3 separate regions of the Homo sapiens genome follow, and regions 1 and 3 are each linked to region 2. The links are contacts of gene promoters, found by promoter capture Hi-C in human tissues and cell types (Jung and others, 2019). All regions are on one chromosome and are shown on one strand. The core of a region is centred on a gene start or on the middle of the fragment in contact, and the rest is flanking DNA. Distances in the headings are between cores, read along the strand shown.

Region 1 (3,803 bases), core at 1,073-3,572, 850 kb before region 2:
TCACACTTATAATCCCAGCACTGTGGGAGGCCGAGTGGGTGGATCATTTGAAGTCAGGAGTTTGAGACCAGCCTGGCCAACATAGCTAAACACCATCTCTACTAAAAATACAAAAATTAGCCAGGTGTGGTGGTGTGCCCCTGTAGTCCCAGCTACTTGGGAGGTTGAGGCAGGAGAATCACTTAAACCTGGGAGGCAGAGGCTGCAGTGAGCCGAGATCATGCCTCTGCACTCCAGCCTGGGTGATAGAGCAAGACTCCATCTGAAAATAAATAAATAAATAAATAAATAAATAAATAAATAAATAAATAAATGACAAAATTGGCAAGTCCTAGACATAAAAATTTGCCTTCCCTCTATCTTGCCCCTCCATTTTTGTTTCCATTCTTCTCTAAGACCAAAAAATTTATCTGAGAGTTGGTTGATCGGGGTAGAACCCAGCGACGTATCCACTACAGGATGAAGCCTGTGATTTGGGCCTAATTTTCGTGCATTTCTGAGTGATTTCATGGAATCTCTCCATGTCTTGGTGTCCTGTGAACACAGCGGCCTCACCGGCTTTGGCTCCACAATGGACTCGCACTTCTTCCTGTAGTAGTATTCGTTGACCACACAGGGCTGACAGCACTTGCACCAGGGATAAATATGGGAGCGACAGCAGTTACTGGAGTAAGTGTCGATGAGGAAGTCGATGAACACAGCGGCCTGGGGAGAATGCAGACAAGCGCTGCGTTAGTCACTTCCTTCTCCAAACCATTTTCCTAAAGCATGGAAAAGAGAATCTCTTACCAGACCGAAGTAGGAGAGGGTTGAGCCGATGTACACAACCAGCTGGATAATGTCAAATTTTCCTCCCTAAAAACAGAGTGGGAGAGTTTACTCAGGTGAAATTCAGAGCAACGCTCTTTTGCTTCAACGTGCAATTGTTGGTTCTATCAGGGAGCGGAGCCTCATGCTGTGACTTGGATAGATGCGTTCAAGTGCTGGCTGAGGCAGAGACTACGCAGACTGAAACTGACTCTCAGGCATCCTGCTTCAGCCGTGCAGGGTGTGCTTGGACCCATAAAGGTTTTACATGAGCAAGCACTGGGGCCCACACATTAAGGGGAGACCCACTGAAGGGCTATCATTTCTCCATACAAGGTGAGGGTTTCAGACAAGCTTCTCCTCCAAAAGGTTTGACATTACTTCAGAAGCAGAGGGAAGGAATGTCTGGGTGGCCTCGTGGGTTTTTTTTTTTTTTTTTTTTTGAGACAGAGTCTCGCACTCTTGCCCAGGCTGGAGTGCAGTGGCGCAATCTCGGCTCACTGCAAGCTCCGCCTCCTGGGTTCAAGAGATACTCCTGCCTCAGCCTCCCAAGTAGCTGGGATTACAAGTACCCACCGCCACGCCCAGCTAATTTTTTGCATTTTTAGTAGAGACAGGGTTTCACCATGTTGGCCAGGCTGGTCTTGAGCTCCTGACCTCATGATCCACCTGCCTCAGCCTCCCAAAGAGCTGGGATTACAGGCATGAGCCACCGTGCCCGGCCCAGCCTTGTGGTTTTTATTCCCAGCGGTCTTTGCATTCTCTCAGCTATATCTTATTGCTTCTAGTCCTGCTTATCACTGTCTTACATAGATAACATGCTCTTGGACAGGATGTCGTGGGATATGTTGATTTTTGCATAGCTGGCATCTTTTCCTTCCATCTTCAGAAGGCAACACTCCAATTTTCTTTTCAGTCCATGTAGTGTGTGTGTGTGTGTGTGTGTGTGTGTGTGTGTGTGTGTGTTGAAGGGGCTGGGGTGTTGGCCTCTCTGCTGGCCCCTGGGCTAGGTTAGGGCTGGTTCGACACTAACCACTGGGAGTATGGCATGACCCTGGTCACAGTGATTAGTTCAGCAGTGGGCATGTCATCCATAGTGGGCCAATCAGAGCCAATGACATTTGTCTGAGACCTTTGCTGAACCTTCTGGCAAAGAGGTGTTTTCTTTTCACTGAGGTTGCTAAACTGGTCAGATCGAAGGTGCTGCCTGATACCTTCATAGAGAGATGGCTGCCAAGACCAAGGAGGACGTATATAAGACACGGAAGGTGGCAAGTTCTTGATGATGATGTTGTTGTTTGAACACCTGGATCCAACCATGCTTGTAGCTTAAAAATAACCCCTGGATTTTTTCAGTTACGTGAACCCAAAAAAGCCCACTCAAAACTTTTTTTTTCCCCTTAAGCCAATTTGAATTGGATTCTGTTACTTACAAACTATTTTACAGAGAGATTTCTTTCTCTCTCTTGTTAAGTATCAGAGTATTTTTAAAGCCGAATGTTAGAATTGCTTTCCAGGCCCACTCCTGTACTCGTCAGATGACTCATTCAGGGACAGCAGCCCGAGAACATCTTCTTCCTCTTTTATCCCATGTGCGAAATGCCCAGTGCTAGCTGAAGGCTGAGACCAAAACCCTTCCCTCCATGGAGGCCCCACAGCAGTAATTAGGACACAGTCATAGGATGCCGGTGCCCGGAGCTGGGAAACGAGACTTACGGTGCCAAAAACCAGGATGTCAAAACGGATCCCGAAGACTTTTATCAGAGTCCGTTTCTCAACATTGTTTTCCTTGTAGTACTTGGCGTATCTGTAGGAAGAAAAGGATCTGTATTTGTAAGATCCCTTTGAAAGTGCTGGGTTTTGGGTTTTTTTTTTTTTTTTTTTGAGACAGGGTCTCACGCTGTCACCCAGGCTGGAGTGCAGTAGCAGGATTACCACTCACTGCAGCCTTGACTTGCTAGGCTCAGATGATTCTCCCACCTCAGTCTCCCAGGTAGCTGGGACTACAGGCATGCACCACCGTGCTCGGCTAATTTTTTGTATTTTTTGTAGAGACGGGCTTTTGCCATGTTGCCCAGGCTGGTCTCGAACTCCTGAGCTCAAGTGATTTGCCTGCCTCAGGCTCCCAAAGTTCTGGGGTTACAGGCATGAGCCACTGCATCTGGCAAAAAATGCTGGTATTTTATGGAAGGAAAAGCCAAAACAGTGGCCTGTCTAGTCCTCCTGGTCTGTCCCCTGGCTCTGTGACAGGTGGCAGGGGAAGGAACACAATCCAAAGCCCTGGGTCTCTCTCCAACCACCTGGAACCAAAGAGCAGTCCCCCCTCCCCATGTCACCACCTGTACCTGCATCATCTCAGAGTGACGGAAAATCAGCTTGTCGCTTAAGATTAAAATGCACATTTTAAACCAACACAGGATTAACAACAAGCAGAGAAATTAAAAAAAAAAAACTTCAAGCAATATGACTATTCCTTAAGGGGGAAGAAGAGGTTTGGCATCTAGAACAAAGTGGGAGTGGGCGGTGGTAAATCTTGCATACTAATTACTGGACTGGAGACAGGCACACCTCAGCAAACTGTATTTTCTTAGATTCTGTGTATGCCTATTTGGCAATCATTAATCACAGGGCCAAACTAAAGGCTGAAGTTGTGTTTTTTGTTTTGTTTTGTTTTGAGGTGGGGTCTTGTTCTGTCACCCAGGTTGGAGAGCACTGGCATGATCAGAGCTCACTGCAGCCTCCACCTCCTGGGCCCAAGTGATACTCCCACCTCAGCCTCCCAAGTAGCTGGGTGGGACTACAAGCGTGCACCACTACAGGTGGCTAATTTTTATTTTTAAATTTTTTGGTCGGGCACCGTGGCTCACACCTGTAATCCCAGCACTTTGGGAGGCCGAGGCGGGTGGATCACTTGAGGTCAGGAGTTCAAGACCAGCCCGGACAACATGGTGAAACCCCATCTCTACTAAAAATACAAAAATTAGCCGTGCATGGTG
Region 2 (4,059 bases), core at 1,035-3,534:
TGGTGACACATGTCTGTAGTCCCCACTAATCGGGAGGCTAAGGTGGGAGGATTGCTTGAGCCCAGGAGGTTGAGGCTGCAGTGAACTATGATCGTGTCACTGCACATCAGTCTGGGAAACAGAGCGACACTTTGTCTCAAAAAAAAAAAACAGATAAATAAATTAAATAACCAGGCCCTCCTTATCCCACAGGGTTGTTGTAGAGGTGACATAGGAACAGAAGAGCACCAAGTTAACCAATTATAAATCTATATAGAGAGAAGCAGATCAGAGGCCAGGCACAGTGGCTCATGCCTATAATCCCAGCATTTTGGGAGGCTGAGGAGTGGATCACCTGAGGTCAAGAGTTTGAGACCAGCCTGACCAACATGGTGAAACCTTGTCTCTACTAAAAATACAAAAATTATCCAGGCATGCTGGCAGGCGCCTGTAATTCCCAGCTACACGAGAGGCTGAGGCAGGAGAATCGCTTGAACCTGGGAGGCGGAGGTTGCAGTAAGCCGAGATCGTGCCATTGCACTCCAGCCTGGGCGACAAGAGCGAAACTCTGTCTCAAAAAAAAAAGAGAGAGAGAGAGAGAAGCAGATTAGCAGTTACCAGGGGCTGAGGGAGTGTGACTGCTAATGGGTACAGGGTTTCCTTCTGGAGTGATAAAAATGTTCTGGAACCCCATAGAGGTGATGGTTGCACAACACTGTGAAGGTACTAAATGCCCCCGAATTGTTTACTTAAACGTGGTTAATGTTATGTGAATTTCAGCTAAACAATGTTATGTAGATATTTGGCCGGGCGCGGTGGCTCACGCCTGTAATCCCAGCATTTTGGGAGGCCGAGGCAGGTGGATCACGAGGTCAGGAGATCGAGACCATCCTGGCTAATGCGGTGAAACCCCATCTCTACTAAAAATACAAAAAAAAAAATTAACCGGGCGTGGTGGTGGGTGCCTGTAGTCCCAGCTACTTGGGAGGCTGAGGCAGGAGAATGGCATGAACCTGGGAGGCAGAGCTTGCAGTGAGCCAAGATCGCGCCATTGCACTCCAGCCTAGGCAACAGAGCAAGACTCCGTCTCAAAAAATATATATAAATAAATAGATATGTGATGTGACAGGTTTTTTTTTGAGATGGAGTTTTGCTCTTGTTCCCTAGGCTGGAGTGCAATGGCGTGATCTCAGCTCACCGCAACCTCCGCCTCCAGGGTTCAAGCCATTCTCCTGCCTCGGCCTCCGGAGTAGCTGGGATTACAGGCATAAGCCACCATGCCTGGCTAATTTTGTGTTTTTAGTAGAGACAGGGTTATTCCATGTTGGTCAGGCTGGTCTCGAACTCTCCACCTCAGGTGATCTGCCAGCCTCAGCCTCCCAAAGTGCTGGGATTACAGGCATGAGCCACCGTGCCTGGCCTCTGATATGACAGTTCTAATGCCCTTTAGTATTCTATAATTCAGACTCAGGCCTTTGGAATCCAAAGCCCAGGTTTTTCTCACAAACCCACACTGCAGAGCGGAGTGGTGGAAAAAAATAAAACCTCTGCCTTGGAATCAGACAGATCTAAACTGGAGCCCTATTTTGTCATTTGCCAACTGTGTGACCTTGGGCAAGTTACCGCAACTCTCTGAACCTGTCTCTTTATCTGCAAGGTGCACGACTGATGGGACTATTCAACCAGACCCAGTGCACAGATTCAGGCACTTGATAAGACATTGAGGCTGCAGGCAGCGATCTTTTTTCTTTCTTTCTTTTTTTTTTTTTTTTTTTGAAATAGGGTCTCACTCTGCTGCAGAGGCTCAATCACTGTTCATTGCAGCCTTGACCTCCCTGGCTCAAGAGATCCTCCCATCTCAGCCTCCTGAGTTGCTGGGATCACAGGTGCAATCCACCACCACACCTGGTTAACATTTTTTTTTTTAGAGATGAGGTCTCTCTATGTTGCCCAGGCTGCACTTCCTTCTTGTCTCCCTTATCCCAGCGTCCGACTGAACTGACGGCTTTGCTTTCCCCAACCAGCCCGTGAAGCTGGGCTGAGTACAAAGTGGTGGGTATGAGGGTCAAGATTGTAAGATCTGAAAACTCCAGAAACCATCCCTTTGGTTAACAGTTGCTAAGGACAAATGCATAACATATTTTCCAGTGATCCCATGCTGGCAAATCGTCAGGGTCATTCCTGCAACAGACAGATTCAAGGCCAGCCCCAAACTCAGCCAAGAGCAAAGCAAACACTCCAGCCTTATCTGGGCAGGGTTGTGTGGAGACTGACTATAAGACTATACCTGAGACTGGTCATCTCAGTTCTTTTCTCACCTTGACTGCAAGATGAAACTCCTTGTGCTAGCTGTGCTGCTCACAGGTAGGCAAGTCTCCCCGGCTCCACCCGCCTTTCTCTCCCAAGTGAGCTAAGATCTCACTCCTCTGGAATGGGGGCCACAGGCCACAGCAAACAGGGATGGCCAGCCCCGCAGTCTCAATTCGAGGTTCCCAGTGGGGCTTAAGGGCTCCTCTATTGGGGTTCCCTCAAGGCTGGCACTTTTTCAACCTGCAAGTCTGAACTCAGATTGCCTGAGCTAAGAAAGCTTGCCTTTATTTTCTTTTTTCCAGACAGGGTCTTGCTCTATCACCCAGGCTGGAGTTCAGTGGCATGATCATAGCTCACCACAGCTTCCAACTCGTGGGCTCAAGTGATCCTCCCACCTTACTCAACTAAGTAGTTAGGCCAATCTCCCATTTATTTTATTTTATTTTAATTTTTATTTTTATTTTACTTTATTTTATTTTTGAGACGGGGCTCACTCTGTCGCCCAGGCTGGAGTGCGGTGGCGTGATCTCAGATCACTACAACCTCCATCTCCTGGGTTCAAATAATTCTCTTGCCTCAGCCTCTCAAGTAGCTGGGACTTGTAGCTCTCAAGTAGCTGGCACACACCACCATGCCCAGCTAATTTTTTGTGTGTTTTTTTTGGTAGAGACAGGTTTTCACCATGTTGGCCAGGCTGGGTGACCTCCCTTTTAGATTCTCCTCATCCTGCTCTATTCTTCCCCTTTCTAATGCAGTATCCAGTTTCCTTACTTATCACATTTATTATTATTCTTATTATTATTGAGACAGAGTCTTGCTTTGTCGCCAAGGCTGGAGTACAGTGGTGCGATCTCGGCTCACTGCAAGCTCCACCTGCTGGGTTCACGCCATTCTCCCGCCTCAGCCTCCCCAGTAGCTGGGACTAAAGGCGCCTGCCACCACGCCCCGCTAATTTTTTTGTATTTTTAATAAAGACGGGGTTTCATCGTGTTAGCCAGGATGGTCTCGATCTCATGACCTTGTGATCCGCCTGCCTCGGCCTCCCAAAGTGCTGGGATTACAGGCATGAGCCACCGTGCCCGGCCTTATCACATTTATTATTTATTGTTTTTCTCTCCCACTAGGTTGTAAGCTCCATGAGGTTAGAGATTATTATTATTATTATTATTATTATTATTATTATTATTATTATTATATCTGTTCACTGCTGTATCTCTAGCTCCTAGGACAGAGCCTGGCACATAGTAAGTGCTCAATAAATATTCACTGGATAAACAGTGCAGATAGTTTAAAACTATCTGACCTAGGGAGGCTGAGGCAGGAGAATGGCGTGAACCCGGGAAGCAGAGTTTGCAGTGAGCTGAAATCGTGTCACTGCACTCCAACCTGGGCAACAGAGCAAGACTCCATCTCAAAAAAAAAAAAAAAACTATCAGGCCTAGCTGGGTGGCACATGCCTGTAATCCTAGCTGAGGCGGTAGGGTCCCAGAAGAAGAAGAAGAAGAAAAAGAAGAAGATATATATATATATACACACACACAAAGATATAAACTTTATATATATAAAGTTTTCATTAAAAAAAAAAAAAAACCTCTACCCACTTTCACTTTACCAGGTTCCTGGGTCCAACGGTCTTCAGAGGAGGCAGCTGGCAGGGGTCAGGGAGGCAGCGTGGGACCCGAGGGAGCAGGAAGGCAGTGTGTCCCCGGGGTGCTGGCAGACCGATTTGAACTCTGGCTATGTCTTCTTGCAGTGGCCGCCGCCGACAGC
Region 3 (3,837 bases), core at 1,071-3,570, 580 kb before region 2:
ACCTCGATCTTTTTTTTTTTTTTTTTTTTTTGAGACGGAGTCTCACTCTGTCGCCAGGCTGGAGTGCAGTGGCGTGATCTAGGTCCACTGCAACCTCCACTCCCCGGTTCAAGCGATTCTACTGCCTCAGGCCTCCCAAGTAGCTGGGACTATAGGCATGGGTCACCACGTCCAGCGAATGTTTGTATTTTTAGTAGAGATGGGGTTTCACCATGTTGGCCAGGATAGTCACGACCTCTTGACCTCATGATCCACCTGCCTTGGCCTCCCAAAGTGCTGGGATTACAGGCGTGAGCCATCGCGCCCGGCCTGGACCTCAATCTCATCAGTGAGCCTTTTCCCAGGGCTCTCTGATAGAGCTTTGGAGGAAACACTTGGAACCTAACTGGTCCTGGCACCTGGCAGTGGGGGAATAAGGAAGGAGAGCTTTGCTTCTGAAGGGAAAGTGTACTTGGCTTTCTCTTTAAAGGGTTTCCCTTGGGGAACAGGCAAGCGGCAGATGTATGGGCAATGGCCAACTGATCCATTTGGAGATAGATTCAGGGTGTGGTGTTCCCTGTAAGCCTGGGCAGGCCCTGGGAAACTGGAGCAGAGCTAAATTCTGGCCTAAAGTTGGGCAAGCTGCAGAGAAGCTTGAGTACGTTGGTTTCAGGTGTGTGAGTTTTGCCTTCTGCAGAGAAACAGGGGGGTGAAGGGTGGGGGTGGAGGGGTGTCCAGGAGGGTTAGTGTATCTGTTGCCCAGGCATGTTTCTAAATTCTGAAGCTGCACTGGTTAATCATTTTTATTCATGAACACAGTAACTGGCAAGGAGGCTTAGCTGGGCCCTCAAAGTCTGGCCTCAGTGCACCTTCTCAGTATATTTTCTCAACACTCCAGCACAAATCACCCATCCCACTCTCGGATTCAAGCTCACCAGGAATTGGGCCTTACTTCATGCCATTCTTTCTTTCTAGAATGCCTTTTCTTTTTTTTTTTTCTTTTTCTTTTTCTTTTTCTTTTTTTTTTTTTGAGACAGAGTCTCGCTGTTGCCCAGGCTGGAGTGCAGTGGCGCAATCTCGGCTCACTGCAAGCTCTGCCTCCGGGGTTCACGCCATTCTCCTGCCTCAACCTCCTGAGTAGCTGGGATTACAGGCGTCCACCACCACGCCCGGCTAATTTTTTGTATTTTTAGTAGAGACAGGGTTTCACCGTGTTAACCAGGATGGTCCCGATCTCCTGACCTCATGATCCACCCACCTCGGCCTCCCAAAGTGCTGGGACTACAGGCGTGAGCCACCGCGCCCGGCCAAAAGAATGACTTTTCTTTGATAAGCCTCTCACCCTTTCAGACGGCCTCATCCACTCCTGGGGAAGCATTCCGCAGTACCTGGGGCCTCAATTAATCTCTCTCTTCTCTCTCCATCTAAGCTCCAGATTCACTTTGTTGGTCTCTGGTCTAGCTCTACCGTGTTTATTTCTGTGCCGGTTTCCAGACCTCCAAATGGACGGTTTCCTGAGCCTTCTGCCCTTGCTGTTCCCTCTGCCAGGAACTCTTTTCCTGTGGATCTTTGCAAGGCCAGCTCTCTGTCATCATTCAATATCAGCTCAAATGTCACCTCCTAAGCGAGGCCTTCCTTGACCACCCTATCTAAAGTAACCCACACCTCTGCTCACTCTCTGTCCCCTCACCTTGTGTTACAAAATGTGTTTTTGTAAAACTTAGCAGCATCTGAAATTATCTTATTTGTGGGCTTGGACTATGTCTCTTCCTTTAGAATGTAAGCTCTAGGAAGGCAGAGTGAGTTGACACATGGTTGGCACCCAACAAATATCTGTTGATTGATTCTGTGAAGGCAAGCGTGGGGTATTCGACTTGGTGCCGGGCCTGGGCGCAATAAAGGTTGGCTGCCTGGAATATTTGCTACCTGAATGAATGAACCAAGGAACATACGAACGAAGGAATGCAGCCCTCTGCCTGTTGACTGACAGGTTGACTGACAGTTGGGGGGCCCGTGGCCAGCAGACTGTTGACTGACGGTTGACAGCTGAGTGGCAGCCAACAGACGCGCATCGGGGTTCCCGATTGGCTGGTGCAGCAGCCCCTCGGAGAGGGGCGGAAGAGGGTACCCGAGGCGACATCTCCGCGTGGGGAGGGGGGCGGCACCAGGCAGCGGGAGGCGGCCCAACTGCTCTGGCTGTGCGAGCAGCAGCCGCCTAGAACCCAGGAGCCGACGTCTCTGCGCATGGGCCCGGCTCGAGGGGCGGGGCGCGCATCACGTGAGCGTGTTTTGGGCACGTGACCCGCGCGGGGCCAAGGCTCGCCCCCGCCCCCGCCCCTCCTCCCCTCGGCGGGTGTGATCGAGTGGCCTCGCCTCATCGCCTAGCGCCCCCCTCAGTCGCCGCCGCCTCCGCCCGCCGGCCATGTCCCCCGGCCGCCGCCGCCGCCGCCCGAGCGCGGCGCTCCCGCGGCCCCGCGCGCAGTGAGCGCGGGCCCGTCTTGCCGTTCGCCCGCCCCAGGGCCCCCTTGTTCTCCGCGCCGCCGCCGCCGCCATGTTGGGTTTGGAGCTGCAGCGGAGCCGCCGCCGCCGCCGCGGGTGAGGGAGGCCGAGAGCGGAGCCCGCCCCGCCCCGGGGCCCAGGGAGCGGGGCCGCTTCGGAGCCCGGCCTCTCCCCGCCAGCCGCCTTCCCGGCCCGCCGTGCAGCCAGCGAGCCAGCGAGCGAGCAAGCAAGCAAGCACCGGACCCCGGCCGCGCCTTCAGCTACGGCCCGAGCGAGCCCGCCGCCGCCGGGCCCGGCCACAGCCTGCAGCGGAGCCCACGAGAGGCAGCGCCATGGCGGAGCAGACCTACTCGTGGTGAGTGCGGGGCTCCGGGAGGCCGGGAGGCGGCAAGGGTGGGGGTCGGGGCGCCGGCGCGGCCCGCCGAGGGGAAGAGGAGGAAGAACAGGTGCGTGTCGTGGGGGGGGGGCGCGGGTTGGGGTGCACGCCCCCCTCTTCCCCACCGGAGGGGGCGGCTGGCGCGCACGGAGGGCGGTGAGTGGCCGGGGACCTGGCGTCCGAGAAGGGGAATGGAGGAGGAGGCAGCGGCGGATGTCATCTGGCTATGGGCGGAGCAGGTGATGGAGAAGGGGAGCATGACCCCGGGGGTGGGAATCCCACGGATGGGAAGTTGAATCCGACAGGCACCCCGGAACTGACTCGTGGGGGTGTTTCCTGGGCAGGAGGACTCGAAGGGGTGGAGAGAGGCAGGCCAGGGCAAAGGTGGGCCGCTGGGCTGAGAGGAAGCTCTAGTGAGAACAGGTGATAGAGGCAGAACTTCTAAGTTGGGAGAGTGGAGCGGCCGCCGCTTGGCTCTGGGACAGGGAGCGCAGGGAGAGTTGGTGAGGTGGGCAGAGGCCCGGGAGTGAGGGGAGGAAAACTGCGGGGGTAGAGTCCACGAACCTTGGAGGGGAGTCACTGGTGAAGAGGTTGGAAGAGGAGCCTGAAGAACCTGTTTCCTTTTCCTTCTGGAAAAGGAATTCGTTGGTGACAGTGGGGCATGGGCAGAGTCTTTGTAAGGGTTGGTACTATTATTTTCAGAGGAATGGCGCCCAGGGCCAAGTGTGGAGGTGGAGGACCTGCAAGTTAAGTTCATTTCTGTGGGGCTTTTAAAGTTAGTAAGTAGCTCGTTAAGGGCCGAGAAGCGAGAAGCTACTGTGTAGTTTATGGGGTGACAACCTACATATCCGGAGAAGGGAGTGCCAGGGTTTGGGGGAAGGAACATGAGGGGTCTCCCTTTAGCATGTAGAGGTGGGATATTTGCAGGACGGGTTGAAGGAATGATGGCAGTATCCATGAAGAGTGGAAATCGGGTAGTGAGA

What was found. Contacts are between HindIII fragments. The study calls those that stand out against the background at their distance.
Region 1: a fragment that was not itself captured here is called in contact with the fragment with the promoter of PLA2G1B in region 2 in 1 of the 25 tissues and cell types used here (IMR-90 fibroblasts).
Region 3: a contact is called between the fragment with the promoter of SPPL3 here and the fragment with the promoter of PLA2G1B in region 2, in 2 of the 25 tissues and cell types used here (mesendoderm cells and small bowel).

Annotation. Positions count from the first base shown.
Region 1 is chr12:121,174,199-121,178,001 of GRCh38, reverse strand. P2RX7 (purinergic receptor P2X 7) reads right to left here. Exons shown (of 13, transcript NM_002562.6): 9 at 2,524-2,614; 10 at 790-855; 11 at 556-705. The region is part of intron 2 of LOC105370032 (a long non-coding RNA gene); the gene reads left to right. Among named protein-coding and RNA genes, the nearest start is that of P2RX4, 34 kb to the left of the region's middle. The HindIII fragment of the contact is 8,089 bases long and covers 1-3,803 here.
Region 2 is chr12:120,326,004-120,330,062 of GRCh38, reverse strand. PLA2G1B (phospholipase A2 group IB) reads left to right here and starts at 2,284. Exons shown (of 4, transcript NM_000928.3): 1 at 2,284-2,343; 2 at 4,043-4,059. The coding sequence starts at 2,310. The HindIII fragment of the contact is 11,861 bases long and covers 1-4,059 here.
Region 3 is chr12:120,902,841-120,906,677 of GRCh38, reverse strand. SPPL3 (signal peptide peptidase like 3) reads left to right here and starts at 2,320. Exons shown (of 11, transcript NM_139015.5): 1 at 2,320-2,833. The coding sequence starts at 2,811. It overlaps XLOC_009911 (a long non-coding RNA gene), which reads right to left and starts at 1,983. Exons shown (of 2, transcript NR_131215.1): 1 at 1,906-1,983. RefSeq lists silencers at 2,121-2,480, 2,561-2,780, 2,921-2,970. The HindIII fragment of the contact is 15,749 bases long and covers 1-3,837 here.